Regions from separate parts of the Homo sapiens genome. Here region 2 is linked to region 1. Evidence: promoter capture Hi-C in human tissues and cell types (Jung and others, 2019). All regions are on one chromosome and are shown on one strand. Each heading gives the region's core, a stretch centred on a gene start or on the middle of the fragment in contact. The rest is flanking DNA. Distances are from core to core; before and after follow the strand shown.

Region 1 (6,114 bases), core at 99-2,598:
TCAAATGTGTTTTCCTGTTAGGCTAAATTGACTCACCATTTTCATTTCTAATCCCTTGATGAGATAGTTGATAAATTAAACCATAAAACTAATGCTACCTGAGACCTGAGACTGTGCATGCTTTGGAAAACGTTTTCATGCGCATTGGCAATTACACGATGCCACCCAGCTTCAAGGCCTGGGGCTCCACATTTTGCTCCCCTTACATTAACTTCCAGGGCCCCTGGGACCAGGGGCTCTGTGCCGGCAGCCAGGTGTGCACCTTATATCTGTGTACCCCCAGCCATATTCAGGCAAGGTAGGGGAAGTGCTCCTGCCAGCTCACAAATCTGCATCTGGCGCCAAGTCCAGGGGACAGCCCCGGGATCCCTGGTGAGCCACGAACCCTTCCTCTCCACAGCATGCCTGTCGTTGCCGAGGCTGCAGGCAGGGACAGCTCCCTTGAGAAAGTCCAGCAAATTGATGCCAGTCAGGGACTGAGAGCTGGGAGGACGGTGTGAACTGCAGCAGGGGGAAGGGAGAATTTGTTTCCAAGCTGAGCACAGAGCAGCTGAGGAGGTGGTTTTGCCCCATGGCAGATTTTTCTCTGAATGTTCGGCTTCAGTTTTCATCCCTGGGAACTCCTCACAGAGGCCTCTCATACCCACCCTCCTTCTTCCCACCCCAGGTACCCTTTTTTCCTAAGAACTGCCTCACAACAAACTCATTAAAATGGCCCAGGGAAGGTTTCCCAGATACAATACAGGAAGCTCAGTGAAATGTGAGTTTGAGATAAACAACGAAGAATTTGTCAGGATAAGTATGTCCCAGATATTTCACTGGACATACTTATACTAATGACTTATTTGTTGTTTATTTGGATTTCACATTTCACTGGGTGTCCTACATTTTTATCTGCTAAATCTGGCAGCTCTAAGTGGATAACAGGAAAAAGTGCAAGACAGATCGTGACCTCTCTGGGGCTGTCCATGGGTCCACCAGCAACAGTTTTTACAGAAAGAGAAACCGCACACTCACCATATCGGCACCTGTACTGACAGACTCCATTCTTCCCTCCCAGCAGCTCCAGAAAAGAATCGAAGTAGCTATTGACGGATTCAAAGCTTCCCCGGAGGTGCCGAAGGCCCCAGTCTGAATAGGACTCCTCCGTGTCAGGGCTCGTGTCGCTCTGAGCCAGGCCACCCCCAAGGCTGAGCCACAAAACCAAGAAGCCACTGGCCAGCTTCATCCTGCAGCCAGGTAGGTACTGGCTTCTCTCCTCAAACCCCAGCCAGTGTCCCAGAATTCCAGGGACAAACCCCCTACCCAGATGTCAGGCAGGACTGGGAAAGGGATTATCTGGAACATTCAATCTGTCTGTTCCCCAGAGGTGGACTTTAAACATAGCTATGGAGGTTGGGATGAGATCAGGGCAATTAGAAAGAGGGCAAAGGTTAGGGAGTGGGAGGGCCAGGGAGAGAGAACATTTCAAAGTGGATTCTACCACCCTGGAGGGAGGGAGATGTTAGCCAGCTTCTGAGACGCAGGAACGGTGAAGGATTCGGAGTTCTACCCCGACCAGCTTGTTAAGCTGTTGATCAGTTACAAGTGTGGCTCTTCAGGGCCAGCCTCTTGATAGAAGAGCTTGACCGAAGGTCCTAGCCACACCCCTCAGCCAGCTACCTACATAGTCTCCAAGGAGAGTCAGGAGGATGTGTACAGGGCCCAGGAAAGCCCCAGCGGTAGGAATTAATAGTCACTTTACCAAGGGTCACGATAGTGTCAGAGTAGGTACCAAGTGTGTGTTAAGCAGAAGTTCAGATTTGAGACCCCAGCTTCTGCTGTGGAACCCACCTGGCTCTGACGCATAAATCCTCTAATTTGGCAGAGCTCCCAGATGTAGCCATCTGAGTGCAGGGACATTTTGGCTTCTATTTACAGCAGTATCTCTGTTTACACTCAGCATAAGTGGATCATAAGACAAGATCTACAGATGGTCCAAGGACAATTCTGGGGGCACTCGGCTCTCCTGGTGGTGTTTTTCCTTTGAGTTTCTTAGAAGTCAGAGGGTTTATCAAATAGTCTATTTGGGAGTGTAGGCTTTTAAGACTGTTGACTGAAGTCTAGTGTTTTGGCATCGTTTTCAGTTTAGACTGCTTTTAGTCGTGTGAAGAAATGCCATCTATAAAATCACTAGTCTAGGACCGGGCATGGTGGTGCATGCCTGTAATCCCAGCATTTTGGGAGGCCGAGGCGTTTGGATCACCTGAGGTCAGGAGTTTGAGGCCAGCCTGACCAACATAGCGAAACCCCGTCTCCACTAAAAATACAAAAATTAGCCAGGCAAGGTAGCAGCCGCCTGTAATCCCAGCTACTAGGAAGGCTAAGGCAGGAGAATCACTTGAACCCAGGAGGCGGAGGTTGCAGTGAGCCGAGAGCACGCCATTGCACTCCAGCATGGGCGACAAGAGCGAAACTCTGTCTCAAAAAAATAGTAATAATAAAATAATCACCAGTCTATAAAAATGATACCTTTATGGACCACATGAATCATTTAGCTCCTTTCTCAAATGTTTGTCTGGAAAGCCCCATGGAAAATAATGAATTAAATGAATTAATTTCTTCATTTTCAGTAAATGTGTTTGGCTGAAGACTCAGACTCCAGGAAGGGCAGTGGTTAAAAATTATTCATAGTCACAACAATGCCACCCAATATTTTAAAGCATCTATACTTTTTCAAACCACTTTCATGCATATGCACATACACAGAGGCACACACATACACATGCACATATGCACAAATGTTCATGCCAGTTTCATGAAGCAGATTAAATAGTCCCATTTGGGGGTGAGAAAACTGATGCAGAGGGTAAGTGACTTGATCAAAGCTGGACAGGCTATCAATGGGAAAGCTGGCACCAGGGCCAGCTACATAATTTGTAGGGCTTCACCAAAACAAAACTGCAAATGCAGAGCTCCTTTTCCAAAAGCAGGGGAACTTGCCATTAAAATACTAACTATAGGCTGGGCGCGGTGGCTCACACCTGTAATCCCAGGACTTTGGGGGGCCGAGGCAGGTGGATTGCCTGAGGTCAGGGGTTCAAGACCAGTCTGGCCAATATGGTGAAACCCCGTCTCTACTAAAAATACAAAAAGATTAGCCCGGCGTGGTGGCGTGCACCTATAATCCCAGCTACTCAGGAGGCTGAGGCAGGAGAATTGCTTGAACCAGGGAAGTGGAGGTTGCAGTGAGCCAAGATCGTGCCACTGCACTCCAGCCTGGGTGACAGAGTGAGACTCTGCCTCAAAAAAAAAAAGCTAACTATAAAGCTTTTTCCTTTAAAAAATGTTTTATTATTTGTAAAATATAATAAGGTTAATAGAGATACATGAGTATCAATATATACATAAATTTTTTAAAAATTGGTGTCATAATTTTATATAATACTATATATTACTTTATAAGTATGCAATATTTTGATCATAGGATTTTTCTGACTTTTCTGAAAATTCATTGATTAGGTCATCAAAGTTTATACTTCTAACAACCTAATTTTCAATCAGTGTAACTGAAAGTGATGTCAGTTGCTCTTGGCAATTGTAAGATGGCAAGAAATATTTGATACTTTTTTGTTTTGAGAAGGATCTTTTTGCTGATGCAACTGTTACTAGAGCTGTTAATAGTATTGTCCCCCCATTTCTTGAAACTTTATACATGTTTAAATTGTGGTAAAATATACATAACATATTTACCATTTTAACCATTTTTAAGTGTGCAATGCAGTGGCATTAAGAACATTCATACATTGTTGTGCAACCATCACCACTATCCATCTCCAGAACTTTTTCATCATCCCAAACCGAGACTCTGTTCCCATTAAGTGATAAGTCCCCATTCCCCTTTTCCCCAGCCCCTGGCAGCCACTATTCTACTTTCTGTTCTTAGGAATTTGCCTATTCTAGGTACCCCATATAAATGGAATAATATAATATGTGTCCTTTTGTGTCCAGCTGATTTCACTTAGTATAATTTTAAGTTCATCCATGTGGTATGTATCAATACTTCACTGAGAATACTGCTGCTATGAATACTGGTGTACACATACCCATTCAAGTCCCTGCTTTCGATTCTTTTGGGTATTATATACCTAGAAGTGGGTTTGCTGGATGGTAATTCTATGTTTAACTTTTGAAGAACCATTATACTGCTTTCCATAGTGGCTGTACCATTTTACATTCCTGCCAGCAATGGACAAGATTTCTAATTTCTCCACATCCTTGTCAACACTTGTTGTTTTCCTTTTTTTTTTTTGACAATAGTCATCCTAATGAATGTGAGGTAGTATCTCATGCATCTCCCTCATAATTAGTGATGTTGAGCATCTTTTCATGTGCTTATTGGCTATTTGTATATTTTCTTTGGAGAAACATCTATTTAAGAAGACCTTTGTCCATTTTTCAATTGGGTTTTTTGTTATTGTTGAGTGTCAGAAGTTCTTTATATACTCTGGATATTAATCTCTTATCAGGGCCGGGCATGGTGGCTCATGCCTGTAATCCCAGCACTTTGGGAGGCTGAGGTGGGTGGATTGCTTGAGCTCAGGAGTTCAAGACCAGCCTAGGCAACATGGCAAAACCCCACCACTACAAAAAAATACAAAAATCAGCCAGATGGAGTGGTGTGTGCCTGTAGTCCCAGCTACTCAGGGGGCTAAGCGGGGAGGATGGTTTGAGCCTAGGAGGTTGAGGCTGCAGTGAGCTGAGAATGTGCCACTGCACTCCAGCCTGGGCAAAAGAGCAAGACCCTGTCTCAAGTAATAATAATAATAATAATCTCTTATCAGATATATAATTTGCATACATTTTCTCCCATTCTCTTGGTTGCCTTTTCACTCTTTGGTAGTGTCCTTTGCACAAAAGTTTTAAATTTTGATGAAGTCCAATTTATCTATTTTTTTGTTCTTTGTTGACTGTGATTTTGTGTCATAGCCAAGAAAGTGTTGGCAAATCCAAGGTCATGAAGATCTTGACCCTATATTTTCTTTAAGAATCTTAGAGTTTTAGCTCTTATGTCTTTGATCCATTTTTAAAAATGACATAACACGGTCGGGAGCTGTGGCTCACCCCTGTAACCCCAGCACTTTGGGAGGCCAAAGCGGGGGTGGATCGCTCAAGTCCAAGAGTTCAAGACCAGCCTGGGAAACATAGGGATGTTGTCTCTACAAAAAAATACAAAAAATCAGCTGGGCATGATGGCATTTGCCTATAGTCCCAGCTACTCTGGAGGCTGAAGTGGGAGGATTGCTTTAGCCCAGGAGGTGGAGGTTGTGGTAAGCCAAGATTGTGCTACTGCACTCCAGCCTGGGTGACAGAGCAAGACCCTGTCTTAAAATAATAGTAATAATAGTTTTATTTATGTTGCTAGGATTGAGATCCAAGTATATTTCTTTGGAATTATAGGGTTTTTTTGTTTGTTTGTTTTTTGTTTTTTGTTTTTGAGACAGAGTCTCACTCTGTCACCCAGGCTGGAGTGCAGGCTGGAGTGCAGTGGCACAATCTTGGCTCACTGCAATCTCCACCTCCTGAGTGCAAGCAATTCTCCTGCCTCAGCCTCCCAAGTAGCTGGGATTATGGGTGCCCACCACCATGCCCAGCTAATTTTTGTATTTTTAGTAGAGACAGGGTCTTACCATGTTGGCCAGGCTGGTCTTGAACTCCCGACCTCAAGTGATCCGCCCATCTCAGCCTCCCAAAGTGCTGAGATTACAGGCATGAGCCACGGTGCCCAGCCTGGAATTATGGATCTTCTGTGTTGGCAGGAATATGAAAGTTAATCTTGTCCAGCAGGTCTTCTAATACTTGAATCCCCTCTATGCTGATCAGCTTTCTTTGTAGCTTCAGAGTTAGCTATTACTTTTTTAATATGTAAAGAGGGAATGAATACGTTTTAGTTAGAAAATTTAAATATGCTTTTTTTTTTTTTTTTTTTTTTTTTTGAGGCAGGGTCTCACTCAGTCACCTGGAGACAGTGGTTTGATCATGGCTCACTGCAACCTTCACTTCCTGGGCTCAAGCAATGCTTCCTCTTAATAAAAAGAAAATGTAGCCTATTGTGACCCCCAGTGTTTTTCTCAA
Region 2 (6,830 bases), core at 4,306-6,805, 35 kb after region 1:
CAGAGCAAGACTCTGTCTCAAGTAAATAAAAATAAATAAACAAATAAATAAATCATCCCACTGCTTCTGGCCTCTAAGATTTCTGCTGAGAAATTGGCAAGATAATCTTACTGAGGCTAATCCCAGCTGCCTCAAGTTCCTGCAGAGACCTGAACAGCCCTGAGGCGTGTATAGTAGACATGTCGGGGGTACCTCAGCTTCCTCCTGTGCCCACAGATCCGATTGTGTCTCCACTGCTCACCTACATGCTCTACTCGCCCATTAGATTTCATGTGCAGAACACGAGTTCAAAGATAAAAATTTTAAGAACTTCAAGACGGTGACAGCAGAACATTAAACCAAGCATGGGGCTCTTCTGGGGGGATGGCACCCACGAAGCTGACCCTGGCTGGGACTAAAACTCAGCTCTCCCAATTCACAGCCCCACATACTCTCTATTCCAGAAGCAGCAGAGCCACTCTTCAATTGAAACCTTAAGTGGGGCTGGGTGTGGTGGCGCACACCTGTAATCCTAGCACTTTGGGAGGCCGAGGTGGATGGATCACTTGAGGTCAGGAGTTCAAGAACAGCCTGGCCAACATGGTGGAACCCCGCCTCTACCAAAAATACAAAAATTAGCCAGATGTGGTAGCATACGCCTGTAATCCCAGCTACTTGGGAGGCTGAGGCACAAAAATTGCTTGAACCTAGGAGGCAGAGGTTGCAGTGAGCTGAGATTATGTCACCGTCCAGCCTGGGCAATGTAGCCAGACTCCATCTCAAAAAAAAAAAAAAAAAACTTAAGTGGAAGTAGAATATATAATTCTTGTATTAATAGTAAAATACTTTTTAAAAAACCACAAGTTTATAATAGATAACCTGACCAGTTGAGGCTTTTTAAATATTCAACTTCATAGGTATCACCTTATCTTTGCTTCATGTAACTTAAATTCACCTCCAGACTAAAGAAGCATAGCATACTGTCTTTGGCACACAGTCTTTAATTACCACACTCCTCTCCTGAAACGCTTCCTCTGCCTGGTTAAATCTGATGCATCCTTTATGGCTCAGTTTCACTCATTCTTCTATGAAATTTATTTAGCTTAACTGTAATAACAGTGAGCACCACTTACTGGGCGCTCACTCTGTGCCTGGCCTGATGCTGAGTGTGTTTTACTTTTTATTTCCAAGAATAGTTAAGTAGTAAGACTCTTACTGCTTAGAACACAACAATTTAAGCAAAAAGTAGTTAAAAATGATCAATTAGGTCACAAAATCTATGCGAGTGTTGAACTTGGATGCTATATGGCAAATAAAATTTCCAACCTACTACTGCTGCCACTCAATACTTAAGACACTAGCCAGACAGTGTTGTACATCTGCAGTTTTAGCTACTTAGAAGGCTGAGGTGGGAGGATCACTTGAGCCCAGGAGTTCAAGGATGCAGTGAGCTATGATTGTGCCACTGCACTCCAGCCTGGGCAACAGAGCAAGACCTCATCTCTCTCTATATATATAGATAGATAGATAGATGCCAGAAACTGTGTCACAGAAGCTCTGAAAGAACCAGGTGCCACCATCATGAGGCTTACCACAAAAGATCCAGTCTCCTCTTGCAATTGCTGCCATATATTGTTCTGGGGTACATTTGCTTGACGAAGCCTAGGAAGATTCTTACAGATATGGAAGTCTTTTAAATATTTTAGCTTTCAGCTTCTTTGGTATATGAAAGTAAGAATTGGAATAGGCAGAGTGAGGTTTTCTAAATTATCTGCCACATACTTCTTTTCTTTTTCTTATATTATCAACACATCTAGAACCATTTTGAGTGGAAGAAGTGCTACCAAGCACTCTGACTTTATTTCTGGCATTATCTAAAGTGTTTCAAAATTAGTTTCACAATCAAGTGTGATATTCGTTAGAAGCTTATGGTAGATCCCGCTAATCAAGTTAAGGAGGTTCCCTTCTACTAGTTTTCAAGGAGTATCTTATTTTTAAAATCATAAATGGGTGTCAAATACTTTTCCCTAACAACATATCTACTAATATTGTGGATTTTATTAACAGATTTTTTTTTTTTTTGAGACGGAGTTTCACTCTTATCCCCCAGGCTGGAGTGCAGTGGTACTATCTCGTCTCACTGCAACCTCTGCCTCCTGGGTTCAAGTGATTCTCCTGTCTCAGCCACCCAAGTAGCTGAGATTACAGGTATGCACCACCATGCCCAGCAAGTTTTTGTATTTTTAGTAGAGATGGGGTTTTGCCATGTTGGCCAGGCTGGTCTCGAACTCCTGACCTCAAGTGATCCTCCTGCCTCAGCCTCCCAAAGTGCTGGGATTACAGGCATGAGCCACCACGCCCAGCCTCATTAACAGGTTTTTAAAACGTTGAACCATCTTTACATTCTTGGGATACATGATACTTGGTCACAATATTTTTGATGCATGGTTTACATTGCCTGGTTGTTTGCTAATTTTTAAAAAGTAGATTTTAATGAATAATTTACATCGAATAAAATGCATATATTTTAAATATACTATAAAATGAGCTTTGTTAAATGTATGCACCTGAAGAACCACCAGGATATAGAACATTTTAATCACCCCAGAATGTCTCTTGTGCACCTTTCATGTCAATTCCCACCCTACTCCCACCCCACTGTTGCCCGTGGCAAACAGTGATCTACTTTTTAATCACTATAAATTTCTTTCCTACAGTGTCATATAAATGTAACTATAGAGTATTTACTCTTTCATGCCTGGCTTCTTTCACTCAGCATTTTTGGAGATTCATATATATCATTGTATATATCACTACTAGTTCATTTTATTACTGAGTATTACTCTAAATGGCAATACCATAGTTTGATTACTCATTTCACTGTGGATAGAAATTTGGGTTGTTTCTAGTTCAGGGCCATTATGAATAATGCTGCTGTGAAGACTCATGAGTCTTTATATGTACACATTGTCAATTCTCTTCAGGGAAAAAACCTAGGAATGGAATTCATGGGTTATATGAGAAGTACACAGTCAATCCTTGGTATATACACAGGGGATTCCTCCAGGACCTCCCATGTATACCAAAATCCATGCATCCTCAAGTTTCTCAGTCAGCTCTGTGGAACACGCATATTTGAAAAGTCAGACCTCCATATATGTGGGTTTTGCATCCTGCAAATATGTATTATTTTCCACCTGTGTTTCACTGAAAAAAAAAACCCAGTTCAAACCCATGTTGTTTAAGGGTCAACTGTATATTTAACTTCATAAGAGACTGCAAAACTGCTTGCTAAAGTGGTTGTACCATTTTGCATTTCCACCAAGAGTGTATGAGTTCCAGTGGTTCCATATCCTGCATTGTCAGTCTTTTTAATTTTAGCCAGTAGAGTGAGTGTGTAGTAGTATCTTACTGTGATTTCAGTTTGCATTTCCTTGATGACCAATGATCTTAAGCATCTTTTCATATGCTTTGTAGTTATTCACATATCTTCTTTAGTGAAAGCACCTATTAAAATCTTTGCCCTTTTTAAATTGAACTGTCTCAATCTGGATACAAGTCCTTTTTCAGACACACACACACACACACACACACACACACACACACACATTTTCTTCTAGTCTGCATCTTGCCATTTCATTTTCTTAAGTGACTTTCAAAAAGAAGAACTTTCAAATATTGGTAAACTCCAGTGTATTTTTTCTTTTATGGTTAATGCTTTTTTGTTGTTGTTTTTTTCTGGTTTGTTTGTTTAATAGAACAGGGTCTCACTATATTGCCCATGCTGGTCTTGAACTCCTGACCTCAAGTGACATTCCTGCCTCAGCCTCCCAAAGTGCTAGGATTACAGGCATGAGCCACCACACCTGGCTGAGGTTAATGCTTTTTATGTCCTAAGAAACTACTGCCTATCCCGAAGTCAAAAGTATTTTTTTCCTAAGTTTTTATAGTTGTAACTTTCACATTCAGGTATATAATTCATTTCAACTTATTTTTTGTATATAGCATGAAGTAAAGGTTATGGCTTGATAGACACATAGGTGGTAGACAGATAACCAATTTGTTCCAGTTACACTTGTTGAAAGGTATCCATTTTCTATTGAATTGTATTGACTCCTTTGCGGACAATCAGTTGAACGCGTATGTGTTTGTCTCTTTCTGGACTTTCTATTTTGTGCCATTGATCTATATGTCTATTCTTAGAATAATAACACTATCTTCACTTACTGTTGCTTTATAAAAAGTCTTTAGGCCGGGCACGGTAGCTCATGCCTGTAATCCCAGCACTTTGGGAGGCCAAGGTGGGTGGATCACTTGAGGTCAGGAGTTCAAGACCAGTCTGGCCAACATGGTGAAACCCCCATCTCTACTAAAAATACAAAAATTAATTAGCTGGGCGTGGTGGCAGGAACCTGTAATCTCAGCTACTTGGGAGGCTGTGGCAGGAGAATTGCTTGATTCCGGGAAGTGGAGGTTGCAGTGAGCTAACGCTGCTGCACCCAACCTGGGGGACAGAGTAAGACTCTGTCTCACCAAAAAAAAAAAAAAAAAAAAAAAGTCTTTAAATTAGGTCATGTGAATCTTCCAACTTTATTCCTTTTCTTCCCCCGCTAATTGTCATCTTTATTCTGGATCCTTTGTATTTCCGTATAAATTTTAGGATAAGGCAAGCATGATAGTTCATGCCTATAATCCCAACTACTCAGGAAGCTGACGTGGGAGGATTGCTTGAGCCCAGGAGTTCAAGGCTGCAGTGAGCTATGATCGTGCTACAGCATTTCAGTCTGGGCAACAGAGCAAGACCCTGTCTCTTTAAATAAATTTTTTGTTTTAGAATGAGACTATTTTTAAAAAATCTGCTTGGATTTTTATTGGGATTGTCTTGAATATATAGGTTAATTTGGGGAAAGCAAAATTGAGTCCTCTGATCTGTGAACATGATACCTATCTCCATTTATTTAGAACTTCTCTAATATTTCTCAGCAATGTTTTATAGTTTTCAATATACAGTTCTTATACATATTTTGTTAAATTTAAATCTAAGTGTAACATTTTTCAGGCTATCATACTGTTTTTTAAATTCAGTTTTTAATTCGTTTTTGTATATGGACTTTGTATTCTACACTCTTGTTAACCTCTGTTCATTTTTAAAAACTCTTTTGTAGATTCTCTAGGAATTTTTTTTCTAACCAACACAATCATGTCACATATGAATAAAGACTACTACTTTAATTCTTCCTTTCTGAGGTGTGTGCCTTTTATTTCTGTTTCTTACGTTATTGCGTTAACCCGGATTTCTAGTTCAATGTTAAGTAGGAATGGAGGAAAGCAGATATTGTTGACTTATTCCAAACATAGGGAGAAGGCATTCTGTCCTTTACCGTTTAAATATGCTAAAATAAGATTCTTATAAATGCCTTTTATCAAGTTGAGGAAATTTCTGTCCCTTGCTATTTAAAAAAAAATCATGAGGGGCGTTCCAAGATGGCTGAATAGGAACAGCTCTGGTCTGCAGCTCCCAGTGTGATCAACACAGAAGATGGGTGATTTCTGCATTTCCAAGGGAGGTACCTGGTTCATCTCATTGGTACTGGTTGGACAGTGGGGGCAAGCCAAAGCAGGGCGGGGCATCACCTCATCCGGGAAGCACAAGGGGTCAGGGAATTTCCCTTTCTTAGCCAAGGGAAGCCGTGACAGACTACCTGGAAAGGGACACTCCCACCCAAATACAGCACTTTTTCCAAGGTCTTAGCAACCGGCAGACAAGGAGATTCTCTCCCATGCATGGCTCGGTGGGTCCCACGCCCACAGAGCCTTGTTCACTGCTAGCACAGCAGTCTGAGATCAGCCTGCTAGGCTGCAGCCAGGCAGGGGGAGGGGGCGTAGCCATTGCTGAGGCTTGAGTAGGTAAACAAAGCAGCCGGGAAGCTCAAGCTGGGTAGAGCCCACCACAGCTCAACAAGGCCTACTGCCTCTACACTCCACCTCTGTGGGCAGGGCATAGCTGAACAAAAGCCAGCAGACAACTTCTGCAGACTTAAACGTCCCTGTCTGACAGCTCTGAAGAGAGCAGTGGTTCTCCCAGCACAGCATTTGAGCTCTAAGAATGGAAGACTGCCTCCTCAAGAGGGTCTCTGACCCCCGTGTAGCCTAACTGGGGACACCTCCCAGTAGGGGCCGACAGACACCTCCTATAGGCGGCTGCCCCTCTGGGATGAAGCTTCCAGAGGAAGGATCAGGCAGCAATATTTGCTGTTCTGCAATATTTGCTGTTCTGCAGCCTCCACTGGTGATACCCAGGCAAACAGGGTCTGGAATGGACCTCCAGCAAACTCCAACAGACCTGCAGCTGAGGGACCTGACTGTTAGAAGGAAAACTAACAAACAGAAAGGAATAGCATCAACATCAACAAAAAGGTCATCTACACCAAAACCTCATCTGTAGGTCACCAACATCAAAGACCAAAGGTAGACAAAACCACAAAGATGGGGAGAAACCAGAGCAGAAAAGCTGAAAAATACAAAAATCAGAGTGCCTCTTCTCCTACAAAGGATCGCAGCTCCTTGCCCGCAACGGAACACAGCTGGATGGAGAATGACTTTGACAAGTTGACAGAAGTAGGCTTCAGAAGGTCAGTAATAACAAACTTCTCCAAGCTAAAGGAGGATGTTTGAACCCATAGCAAGGAAGCTAAAACCCTTGAAAAAAGGTTAGATGAATGGCTAATTAGAACAAACAGTGTAGAGAAGACCTTAAATGACTTGATGGAGCTGAAAACCATGGCACAAGAACTTCATGATGCATGCACAAGCTTCAATAGCCGATTCAATCAAGTGGAAGAAAGGGTATC

Evidence for each region. Contacts are between HindIII fragments. The study calls those that stand out against the background at their distance.
Region 2: a fragment that was not itself captured here is called in contact with the fragment with the promoter of PLA2G12B in region 1 in 1 of the 25 tissues and cell types used here (pancreas).

What each region holds. Positions count from the first base shown.
Region 1 is chr10:72,953,458-72,959,571 of GRCh38, forward strand. PLA2G12B (phospholipase A2 group XIIB) reads right to left here and starts at 1,349. Exons shown (of 4, transcript NM_032562.5): 1 at 1,018-1,349. The coding sequence starts at 1,228. The HindIII fragment of the contact is 10,065 bases long and covers 1-6,114 here.
Region 2 is chr10:72,984,118-72,990,947 of GRCh38, forward strand. No RefSeq gene overlaps it. Among named protein-coding and RNA genes, the nearest start is that of PLA2G12B, 33 kb to the left of the region's middle. The HindIII fragment of the contact is 3,008 bases long and covers 4,052-6,830 here.